2 separate regions of the Homo sapiens genome follow, and region 1 is linked to region 2. The links are contacts of gene promoters, found by promoter capture Hi-C in human tissues and cell types (Jung and others, 2019). All regions are on one chromosome and are shown on one strand. The core of a region is centred on a gene start or on the middle of the fragment in contact, and the rest is flanking DNA. Distances in the headings are between cores, read along the strand shown. Region 1 overlaps USP40 (ubiquitin specific peptidase 40). Region 2 holds the start of UGT1A9 (UDP glucuronosyltransferase family 1 member A9).

Evidence for each region. The method cuts DNA at HindIII sites, captures the fragments that hold promoters and counts their contacts. A contact is called where the count stands out against the background at its distance.
Region 1: a contact is called between a fragment that was not itself captured here and the fragment with the promoter of UGT1A9 in region 2, in 3 of the 25 tissues and cell types used here (H1 embryonic stem cells, mesendoderm cells and thymus).

The regions. Positions count from the first base shown.
Region 1 is chr2:233,496,402-233,502,840 of GRCh38, forward strand. It overlaps USP40 (ubiquitin specific peptidase 40), which reads right to left. Exons shown (of 32, transcript NM_001365479.2): 22 at 3,478-3,514; 23 at 2,147-2,211; 24 at 357-431. Among named protein-coding and RNA genes, the nearest start is that of USP40, 67 kb to the right of the region's middle. The HindIII fragment of the contact is 5,362 bases long and covers 889-6,250 here.
Region 2 is chr2:233,669,127-233,675,245 of GRCh38, forward strand. It overlaps UGT1A9 (UDP glucuronosyltransferase family 1 member A9), which reads left to right and starts at 2,772. Exons shown (of 5, transcript NM_021027.3): 1 at 2,772-3,663. The coding sequence starts at 2,809. All of the region lies in intron 1 of UGT1A8 (UDP glucuronosyltransferase family 1 member A8), which reads left to right. All of the region lies in intron 1 of UGT1A10 (UDP glucuronosyltransferase family 1 member A10), which reads left to right. It also overlaps UGT1A. The HindIII fragment of the contact is 24,288 bases long and covers 1-6,119 here.

The sequences.
Region 1 (6,439 bases), core at 2,320-4,819, 170 kb before region 2:
TATTTATAAAAACAAAATGTTAAAAACACGGTAAGTTTCCAACAATGAGGATATAGATCAATTAAATTAGTAAAACATTACCTTGGATATGATGATTATTTTTGGATTTTATGAGAAGGTTAAAATGTCAAATATAAAAAGTAGGAAATAAAAATGTTACATATAATTGATTTTAATTTTGTGTGAGAATATTTACAAGTTAGGAAACATATCTGATTGATAGCATTTGGGGAAAGTTCTCCCTTCTCTTTATGACTGTCTGAATTTCCCCATTTTCCCTAAATGAGGCTGTATCATCTCTGTAATCAGATAACAATTATTACTTAAGAGTTGTCTATTCAGAAGTAAAATCTTACCAGAGGAGGAAGTTGTCCTTCAATTAAAAGCAAAGTATCTCCAGAACATATCAGAAGTTCTTTCAGTGTTGCATCCTGGGAAGACAAAAATGCTTTTTTGTCACTTATGACTTCTGAAAGGAGCAGATCATTGATCTTTTTAAAACCCCATGCCTCTATTATCTTTTCAAAAATTAAATGAATAATAAAGCAGATATGGAAGACACAGGAAATAAGCTAAGACTATAAAATCAGTACAGCATTATTTGTTAAATTGTGGGGCATAAGCTGTAAGTCTGACAGAAGAACTGAGGCAAGGGAGTTAGATGAGATGAGAAATGAGAAACTGATTTACAGAAGATGAAATTTTAATTAATCCTAAAAAGATGGGTTGGATTTGGAAAGCTAGAGAAAATAACAGAAGGAATTTCTCACGAAAAAAAGGACAAGGGCTAAGTTAAGGTTGATAGTAAATATGGCTTGTTTTGGTAAAGCGCTAAAGCCACACTGATTCGAGTGGAAAGTACCAGGAGGTCACACCGGACTGGAAGGGCAGGCACTAACCACAGGACATGGAATAGAAATAAAGGAGCCACACAAGATTTCTGAGGAGATTTTCCAGATCAATCTGGCTGCAATATGCATGACATTGAAGCAGGGAACGCCTGGGCCCAGGAAAGCCATAATAATTTAGGTGAGAGGCATACGAAGGCTTGGACCTGGAGCCAAGCATGGGAATGGTCAGGGAAGGGGTGGAAAAGCTGACAGTTTGGAGGCTGAGAGGAAACATGAAGAATGAAAGATAAGGAGGATATTTTACTCTTGAAGATTAGGATGGGAAAGATACCTGGCAAGGCTGGAACGAGAAGCCAGTTCCAAGGGTAATGAGTTGGCTTCTGGCTGAATTCTTTGATGCCAATTTGGGAATTAATAGAGAAGAAAATGCTGAAGCTATTTGGGTAAATATATTCTTCTGACATCCAAATTTTATGTCCTAAAGATGCTTTGAGGTCCACTTCTTACTCCAGGCAGTCAAACTCCTGCCCAGGCCCCAAGAGGGGCCTCTTGCTATTGACTTACTGACTGCTAAACAGCAAAGAGCATTCCAGGGCAAGGCCCCAGCATACCTCCCTAAATCAACCTTCTGCTGGCATTCAGTGCCCCTTCTTAAAGAACAGGAAGTAGGCAGGTGAAGACTGGGGAAAGGGCGGCTGACCACAGCTCCCTCAGACTCCCCACAGAGCTTTATTTTGGGTCTTCTTCTAAGGCTACGCATTTGAACTGGGAAATATCATGCTATTTGGACCAACAAGATGACCAACTAGATTCCAACTCTCCTGTGATAAAATTATTCCTAAGGCTACCCTAACAGTTTGGCTGGATCGAGAGTTTGGACCAAAGCCTAACTTAGGAATGGTTAGTAAGAAATTCTGCCACCATTACCTTACAGAGAAACTCTGAGATCAAAACATTCAGGGGCCAAAACTTCAGAGTGTATCTATAAAATTCCTTCATGAGCTCAAATGTCATTTGTTCTGTGAAGTTCTCTGCCTTCTCATGAACTGCTCCTCCTAGAGGCATACTCTCATGGCAAGGGGGTTTACCACAGATGTCAGAAATGTTCCCACTGCACTGTGACTTCCCCTTTATCAAAAAACTATAGTAAGAAAAAAGTAAAATAGACCCATTCATAGATATTTGTATCCTATAGAAAGTAATTAAAGCTTTCTCATGAGTGGAATGGGTACCTTGTACGAAAATATGACATAAATGTAATCATACGAAAGTACAATGTATAGAAATCATCTTACTTCTTCACATAAAGGCTCTCCAGCTTCATAGCACCAATCCATTTTTCGTAAATGCCAGGCATCTCCTATAAAGGAGTCAAAATTGGGATAAAAAAAATTCAAAGTTAGGTGAGACGTTGCGTGTAACTTCTAGAAGAATGTCTTGCACCCAGAGCACCTTAACTTCCTTTCCAGATAATAAAGCTATGGGCCTCCATGTTAATGAAGTCTGAGAACAGCAAAGTGTGCTACTGAAATCAGAATGAGGTCTCATCAAGCTCACTGACATGATCTCACCTGGAAAGTTGCTTCAGTTATCTTAGATTTATTTTTTTCATTCATTTTACATTCCGTCATCTATACCACAAAAATACTGACATGAAACAGAATGCACTGAAATTTGGAATCAATAAAATTGAAAGGAATCAGTGGAAGACCTGCGTGGCTCCAGGTGGTATACATCTTAGCGTTCTTTTTATTTTAAGTTCTGGGGTACATGTGCAGGATGTGCAGGCCTGTTACACAGGTAAACGTGTGCCATGGTGGTTTGCTGCACCTATCAACTCATCACCTAGGTATTAAGCCCAGAATGTATTAGCAATTTTTCCTGATGCTCTCCCTCCCCCACTCCCACCCCCCCATACACCAACAGGCCCCAATGTGTGTTATTCCCCTCCCTGTGTCCATGTGTTCTCATTGTTTGGCTCCCACTTATAAGTAAGAACATGTGGTGTCTAGTTTTCTGTTCCTGCATTAGTTTGCTGAGGATAATGACTTCCAGCTCCATCCATGACCCTGCAAAGGACATGATCTCATTCCTTTCTATGGCTGCACAGTATTCCATGGTATATATGTACCATATTTTCTTTATCCAGTCTATTACTGATGGGCATTTGGGTTGATTCCATGTCTTTGCTATTGTGAACAGTGCTGCAATGAACATACATGTGCATGTATCTTTATAATAGAATACTTTATATTCCTTTGGGTATATACCCAGTAATGGGATTGCTGGATCAATGGCATTTCTGGTTCTAGGTCTTTGAGGAGTTGCCACACTGTCTTCCACAATGGTTGACCTAATTTACATTCCCACCAACACTGTAAAACATTCCTACTTTGTACCTTTGCTGGATCCTATCTAAATTCTCTACTCAGAGCTATACCATTAGTTTTCTTTCAGCATGCCAACAAGAACCAGGAGAATTCATTATGTACATATGGAAGTGTAAACTACTTTTTATTTCTCCACACCCTATAAATTTTTTTTTCCTACAACCCTGGAGAAAAAAAAAGTCAAAAAAATTTTTATTAGGCTTTTAAGTAATATGTCATCATGGTAAGTAACTTACCTTGTAGGCCAGATTTCTTCAGCATTAACTTTAAACACTGTAAAGAAAAACAATGTCCAATGTTAGTTTTCTGTTTCTGAGTTACAGTTCTAGGACAAACACCCTTTTTGGACCCTAGGCCTATTTAAGTCTGACTATATTTAATGATTCTTGAATAGGCAAGGATAGACATAGTTAAGAAGATAATACACGAGTCAGCTTTCCTTTCTAAAGGCTAGATGGGGCCAATTCAGGAAGAGGAAAAAGCAGTTTCTGGTGTTTGCAAGCAGGACTTAGTTCAAAGTTTCATCCACCAACTCCCAGGTTTGAACCATGACTTTCTTCCTGTAAGGATTAACTGTGTGTCTTTGGCCAGATATGATTAATCAAGTTAATTTCATAGACATTAAACTCTGAATCCTATAAAAGGCGAGATTGATAGCATTTGGGGAAAGTTCTCCCTTCTCTCTTCTCTTTATGACTGTCTGAATTTCCCCGTTTTCCCTAAATATAAAAACTCACAAGAATTGTGCAAGCTGTGATGTCATGGCATAATGCAAAAATGAGACAATATTAACAAAAGTTTAAATAAAACAAAAATAGTAATTAAAACAATTTCTTGAGGGAAAAACATTGCTAATTAAATCTTGGACAAGCGAGCAAATACAATTTGATTTCTATTACACTAGAGCAAAAGAGAGCAAAAATAAGGAAGTCACTGCTGTACTGTTTGTAATAAAAGAAAAATGGCAAAAAAAACCCCACCAAAATACACATTAATGGGAGATTTTTTAAAAAGTAGGAAATGTCTTAAAGCAGTTCAAAGAAAAAAACAGATTCATATATATTGGTCTTAAAAGATCTTTAAAATATTTTAAGTGAAACAAAGTTCTAGTATAATACATGCAAAGTGATCCCATTTATAATTTAAAAGAAATCACAGAAGCAAAGCACACTCTTCATTTCTATATGTATGTATATAGACACATGCTGGTATAGGCACAGCAAAGGTCTGGAGGGACACATACTCTGCTGATGTGGATAAGATGATGTTATCTGATTGCAACAGTGACTTCTAGAGAAAGGACTAGAATAGAGTGGTAACCAAGGGGGATTGTTAATCCCCTAGAAGTTTAAAAAGTGAGAAGAAATCCATGATTACTTGTATGACAAAAAATAAGGCTTTAAAATATAATTATAGATTGTTTAGAAAATGATGATAAAAACACAGTATACTAAAATATGGTGGATGAATGAAAGCAAGCTTATATTCTAAGAAAACTTAAAGCCTTAAACATTGTATTTAAGAAAAACAATCAAACAATTGAGCAATCAACTTAATTGTGTTTTAGGAAGGGGAAATAGAGAGCATAAAAGCCTTATTTCAGAAACAGCAAGAAGGCCAGTGTGGCTGAAGCACAGTGAGTAAGAGGGGGAAATGGTTGGAGGTTTGAAAATATAACAAAAATGATACCAGAGAACCAGATCACATAGGCCCTTGTGCAGACATTCAAGACTTCACCTCTTACTCTGGGTAAAATGGGAAACCACAGGAGGGTTGTGAGTATAGGAGTGACTAATCTCTCTTACATTTTAAAGGATCACTCAACTTTTTATAAGAACAGACCCTGGGAAGTGCAAGGCTATAAGGAAGGAGATCAGTTAGGAAGCTGATGGATGAAATTCATTTCAGATGAAAAAGATGACAGGTTTGACAGGGTGGTAGTAATGAACAGAATGAGATGTGGTCAGATCCTAGATGCATTTTGATGGTAGAACCAAAAGATGTCCTTGTGAAACTGAATGTGAAGTAAGAAAGAGAAGAATCAAGGATGACTTCAAGGCTTTCAGCCTAAGCAAGTAAAAAATGGAGTTGCCATTAACTGAAAAAGAGAAAAATATGAGCGGGTTATGTTTCAGGGAGAATAAGAAGAGCTTTACTGTGAATATGTTCTAGGTTTGGATGATTGTTAGACAACCAAGTGGCAGCTGGATGTTCTGGGCCGAGGTCCAATCTAAGAACTGGGCAGCAGAATGCTCAAAGATAGAGAAGAGGAGGAGACAGCAAACTGAGAAGGGTAGGCCAGTGGGATATAAGGAAAACCTGGAGTTGTGGTCTTCTGGAGCCCAGTGACAAAAGTGTTTCAAAGAATAGAGTCATCAGGTACATCGAATGTTGGTGATAGAGCAAGTAACATGAAGAGTAAAAACTGCTCACTGGACATAGTAATGTGGAGGCCACTAATGACCCTGACATAAGCTGTTTCAGTGACATAGCAAGGAACAAGTCTGCCTGCAAGGGGTTCAACGGAGTACAGAAAGGAAGATACATCACTTTTGAAAAGTTTTGTGGTTTCTTTCCTTGAAATTAAAAAATGTAAAGTTAAAAAGGCCAGTAAAAAACTGGGAAAATACCTGCAGAAAATAGTAAAATGATCCTCAAATACCCATCACCCAGTCCCAATTACAGGTTGAGTATCCCTTATTTGAAATACTTAGGACTGGAAGTGTTGGATTTAAAAAAAATTTTTGGAATATCTGCATTATACTTACCAGCTAAGTAACCTCAATCCAAAAATCTAAATATGAAATGCTCCAATGAATATTTTCTTTGAGTGTCATGTCAAAGGGTCAAAAAGTGCTCAAAAAGTTTTGGATTTTGCAATCTGGCAGTGGCCCTGCCTCCCCAGAGAGAGCGCTGCACAGCTGCCTGACCCACACATGTTTGCACCCAGCCCAATAGCAAGTGTGGCAGTATCCCCCTCCCCAGAGAGACCAACACACAGCTATGCTCAGGTTGTGCTTGGTAGCAGCACAAACCAGCATCCTTTCCTCCACCAAACCATGTCACCTCTGTCACAAACACCCGTAACCTAGGAAATTGAGGCAACTGCACACATCATTAATGAGGATTACAGCTGAAGAACTGGCATAGGGATCATGCTACTGAGCCCACCAAGAACCAAAGCCAACAACACATCAT
Region 2 (6,119 bases), core at 1,522-4,021:
TTTGAAAAAACTTGGTTGCTCATACTTCTATTTCTGGGTATTCTATTCTGTTCCAATGATCTTTTTGTGAAATATTTGATTACTATAGATTTGTAATAAGTCTTGAAATTAGGTAATAATTGCTCTCCATTTTTTTTTCTATTTTTTAAAAGTTATTTTTGCTATTGTAGGTCTTTTACATTTCCCTATGAATTTTAGAATCAGTTTGCCAATTTGTACAAAAAGATAGCCTGCTGGAATTTAGATTGGGGTTGTATTAAATTTATAGATCAACTAAGGAAAAATAACATTTTAACAATTTTGAGTTTTCTGATTCATGAACATATCTATTTATTCAGGTCTCTCACCAATGTTTTGTTGTTTTCAGTGTACAATCTTTCACATCTTTTGTCAGATTTATCTGTTAGTATTTTTTATTTTTGATGCTATTTAGGTGCTGTTTTCATTCCAATTTTCAATTGTTCATTGCTAGTACATTTGACCCTTGAAGAATGTGAGGATTGAGGTACCAACCCCCGAGCAGTAAAAAATTAGCATAGAAAGGTTTTGTGGGTTTCTTTTTGTTTTTTATTTTTGAGACAGAGTCGTGCTGTTTTGCCCGGGCTGGAGTATAATGGCGTGATCTCAGCTCAATGCAACCTCCGCTTCCCGGGTTCAAGTGATTCTCCTGCCTCAGCCTCCAGAGTAGCTGGGATTACAGGCATGCACCACCACCTGCAGCTAATTTTTTGCATTTTTAGTAGAGATAGGGTTTCACCATGTTGGCCAGGCTGGTCTCCAACTCCTGGCCTCCCGTGATACGCCCACCTTGACCTCCCAAAGTGCTGGGACTACAGGTGTGAGCCACCACGCCCAGCACACATAGAATTTTTGACTCCCTAAAAATTTAACTATTAATAGCCTACTGTGCACTAGAAGCCTTACCAATAACAGAAACAGTTGCTTAACACATATTTGGCATGTTATATGTGTTATATACTGTATTATCATAATGAAGTCAGCTAGAGAAAAGAAAATGTTATTAAGAAAATCTTAAGGAAGAGAAAATTAAGTATTCATTAAGTGGAAGTGGATCATGATAAAGGTCTTCCTCTTGATTGTCCTCCATTGAGTAGGCTGAGAAGGAGGAAGAGGTGGGTTGGTTTTGCTGTTTCAGGGGTGGCAGAGGGGGAAGAAGTGGAGGAAGAAGGAGGAGAGACAGGTACACTTGGTGTAACTTTACAGAATTACATCATAATTATTATTTGACTTTTTTGCCTTTGCAATTCTTTGAAAATGCTTTTTTACAGTACTAGTCCTTCTTCCCCATTTGCTTTAGTTTCAGTGCCCATTCATGGAAGGGTTTGTGTTGTAAAATAAGTCAAAAGTAGTCTTAATAATTGGAAGCCTTTGCCAAACTGTTTAATAGGAATTTGTTTTCTGGCATGGCTTCTTCTATGTCTTCTTTAGTATCTGGTACTGATTCAAAAGCACTCATCTCCATCAAGTCATCTTCTGTTGATTCCTCTGGTGTGGTGTCTATTCATTCTTGAATTTCTCACAGATTCATATCTTGAAAGACCATATCCCCCACCTTTTGTTGCTGAATTAGAGATGTTGGGTTTGCAGGCAAGTAGACCACTTTGACACCTTCAGTGTTGAACTCATGGGTTCTGGGTGGCTAGGGGCATTGTCCAAAAATCAAAAGAACTTTGAAAGACCGTCTCTTACTGGCAAGATATTACCTGACTTCAGGGACAAAGTAATGATAGAACCAATCCAGAAAAAGTGTTCTTGCCGAGGCCTTCTTGTACAACAAAAAAACTGGCAGTGGGTATTGATCTTTTCCCTTTAAGGCTTGGAGGCTAGCAGGCTTATGGATGGGGGCAGTCCTATTTGTAAACCCAAACATACAAACATACAAACTATGTCAAAGGCATAGCATGGGTACTGTGAAAGGAGGGTGAAAACACAAAGTTGACATCACCTCTGACCTCAAGGAGTGCTCAGCAGACTGAGAGAGACAAGTACATATTTTCCTGAAGGAGGGCACTGGAGTGATGGCGTGTTTAGAATGTGCAAGTTGAGCGGTCACTGAGAGGCAGCTCAGCAGAGTGCTCTCGCAAGGATTGGGCGGGCAACTTCCCACTGCGTGCGATGTATCTTAGGAAAGCCATTTAAAATAGGAGACGGTTACTTTCCATCAAGTCCCTGGTATGGTCCATGGAAGCAGGGTTGTCAGTCTCATTTCAGCATTTTAGAGGCTTCTCAGGGTTTGGAAATGGAAGAAGAGAAGCAGCAATATGTATGCATTGCAGAGACACAGGCGAGCCCCAATTTAGGAGGTTAGGAGGTCAGTGCTAAGGGCCTTGTTTTCTTTGCTTAGAGCATGAGTTGCCATCTTCTCTGGACAGAGAGTATTTGGTTGCCTAAAGGTAAAATCTAAATTTTGCTCTGGGACAAATTCCAAAAAAAATTAGCTTTAATCAAATTTACTTTTACTTTATCTTTCTGAACCTTCAAGGTCCAAAAGCATTGGTTAATAATTCTGCTTCTAAACTTAACATTGCAGCACAGGGCATGTTCTGCCCCCAAGGCAAAGACCATAAGCTACTGTTGTCTGGAAAACATACAAATAGATATCTCAGCAAAAGCTACTCATATATTCTTGTTCTTTTGGGTAAATCATTGTCAGTGACTGATTTTTTTTTTATGAAAGGATAAAAACACGCCCTCTATTGGGGTCAGGTTTTGTGCTGGTATTTCTCCCACCTACTGTATCATAGGAGCTTAGATTCCCAGCTGCTTGCTCTCAGCTGCAGTTCTCTGATGGCTTGCACAGGGTGGACCAGCCCCCTTCCTCTATGTGTGTGTCTGCTGCTGACCTGTGGCTTTGCCGAGGCAGGGAAGCTACTGGTAGTGCCCATGGATGGGAGCCACTGGTTCACCATGAGGTCGGTGGTGGAGAAACTCATTCTCAGGGGGCATGAGGTGGTTGTAGTCATGCCAGAGGTGAGTTGGCAACTGGGAAGATCACTGAATTGCACAGTGAAGACTTATTCAACTTCATATACCCTGGAGGATCTGGACCGGGAGTTCAAGGCTTTTGCCCATGCTCAATGGAAAGCACAAGTACGAAGTATATATTCTCTATTAATGGGTTCATACAATGACATTTTTGACTTATTTTTTTCAAATTGCAGGAGTTTGTTTAAAGACAAAAAATTAGTAGAATACTTAAAGGAGAGTTCTTTTGATGCAGTGTTTCTCGATCCTTTTGATAACTGTGGCTTAATTGTTGCCAAATATTTCTCCCTCCCCTCCGTGGTCTTCGCCAGGGGAATACTTTGCCACTATCTTGAAGAAGGTGCACAGTGCCCTGCTCCTCTTTCCTATGTCCCCAGAATTCTCTTAGGGTTCTCAGATGCCATGACTTTCAAGGAGAGAGTACGGAACCACATCATGCACTTGGAGGAACATTTATTATGCCACCGTTTTTTCAAAAATGCCCTAGAAATAGCCTCTGAAATTCTCCAAACACCTGTTACGGAGTATGATCTCTACAGCCACACATCAATTTGGTTGTTGCGAACGGACTTTGTTTTGGACTATCCCAAACCCGTGATGCCCAACATGATCTTCATTGGTGGTATCAACTGCCATCAGGGAAAGCCGTTGCCTATGGTAAGTTATCTCTCCTTTAGCACCTTAAGAATACTTCACCTTTGGAAATTAAAAAAGGATTCTTTACTGAACTGTGATTTGACATTTTCATTTGTTTCATTTCAAATTTCTTTCCAGTTTAACAAATTATTTTGTGCCAATGCGTGTACTCGTCAGTAGCAAATTTTATAAAACTGCCCTTCTTGAAGATATGTATTTATAACTTATAAAATTGTGGAACATATTCAGCCTACATTTTTAAGTACCATGTTTAGAAAAGTACCAAAAACCACAGTAAGAAATGAAACTTCCCTTTTTTGTTAATTCTATATGCCCGCCCCAGAGGAAATGGTCTTAGTTTTGTGAACATTCTTTTAATGTTTTTAAAAAAGTACTTTAGGTATATACAATATCTAATGTAAATTCTCACACCTATTTTGTTAAAATAAAATCTAGTATTGGGCTGGACATATTCTTCTTTTCTTTGCATTTTTCACTTGCCAATAAATTATAAATACCTTTATAGACCAATACAGACAGATTTGACAAGTTCTATTAATAATTGCATAAAATACTTTACTTTGGATGCAATGTAGTTTTTAACCAATTAATATTGATATAGATTTAGGCATTTTGCATTTTTTGTCTTTATGAATAGGGCCGTGTAAACACTCTTTAATACTTTCCTTACATGAATATATTTCCATATTCTTGCTTTTATCTTAGTTGACTAGAGCCCTACATGTAGGGTTACAGGATTTCCATGAATTGAGAAGGATTGGCATTTTTTTGCTATTGTGTCTTCCTGTTCAGGAATATGTATGTCTCACTATTTATTCAGATCTTGTTTTATATACATAAATAAAATTTTTCACTATATAAGCATTTTCTGTTTCTTATTAACATTTATTCCTCAGCATTTCATTATTTTTGAAACTATTGGGTACAGGACAATTTTTCCATTTCTACATGTAACTGACTATGGGTAATTAAGGTTTTGTTTTTTGCATATGTATCTTGTATCCAGCCACATTACTAACTTATCTTATTATTTTGTAGTATACAGTAGATGTACAATATACAATGTCAACTGCAAAGAATTCCCTTCTCTGATATTTATACCACTTATTTTGCTTTGCTGGAGCTTATACTTCCAAAGCACTATTGAGTAATATTGTGAGAGTAGCCAGTTTAAATTTTAAATAGGGATTCAATCACTTGTGATTGAAAAGTCCATGACAAATACCAGAATAACATTCTTAGCAAATGTGTAGTTGGCTGAATCCAGATTAAACACCTAATGTCTAATCTCAGTATATTATTTTGGAGGGATGGAGTATACAATTTATCTATTGTTCTGGCTCCTTACAAGGTTCAGTAGACTTGGTAACACAGTCATATTCTCTCACATATTGGCAGATGTTTGGTGAAAGAGTGACTGTTCAGCCAACTCATGGGAAAGTGAAATAATGCTCTTTCTAAAAAGCAGGAGGACTACAGTTGTAGGCCTTTCAAAATTAGGCATGACTTTCGGATCTTCACAAGACTAGGCTAGGAGATGCAAATGGCAGAAATCTAAGAGGTTAGACTTGTCTAAGCACTTTTCTCCCCTTTACCCTCCATAAATTATAGTATCCTCCATTAATTGTAGTAACAGGCACCACTTATGTGTTGCCTGCACCCCACAACCTTTGGCTGAGGGTAAGGCCCTGCCACTTCCTGAACCCACACTGAATTTATTGTGCCTCACAGCGTCACCCAGAGGCCTTTAGAGATATAAAAACCTATATATGATTTTATATCACCTATGATAGAGGGTTATCTATAAAATATGAAACATCAAACTATATATGGTTTCATTTATTTTGATTATAAATATCTTTTATGAGATATGAAATAAATGTGTTTATGTGTCTATTAAAGAATATGGATGTATGAAAGTTTTTATACTTGTGGAAGATTACATATATTAATGTATGTATTTATGACTATACGTGTAAAGCCAGCGGAGTTCTCACAGAGGAATTCAGAACTCAAAGAAGGCTTTCCGGCAAAGAGCCTTGGATATGGCCCAACCACAGAAGTAAATTGTCATTGACAGAAGGATGGACACTTCATATTGCTCCTTCCTTGTTTCAGATGCCAGGATGTGTCTGGGAAAAGCATGCAGTTGGTTACATCTTGCTGGGAAACAGGATTCAGAGTCTGTGTCTTATCTGTCTGATGAGAAGGAAGCATTACTTGATGATGGAGTATGTGTTTGCACATGTATGTGTTTGTGTATGTGCAGGTGTGTTTGTGTGCAGTGTCCCAGACCCTGCATAGGGGATTTTCTTGAAGGTCTCCTGTAACAAAATCTCCTTGAGGCTATCCAGGGGAATTACATCCAGGGATGTAATTAAATACTTTAACAAGGATGGCAGATGGCCCCGTCTTCAATGTCAGGGATCAAATTTCAACGTGAGATTTGGAGGGGA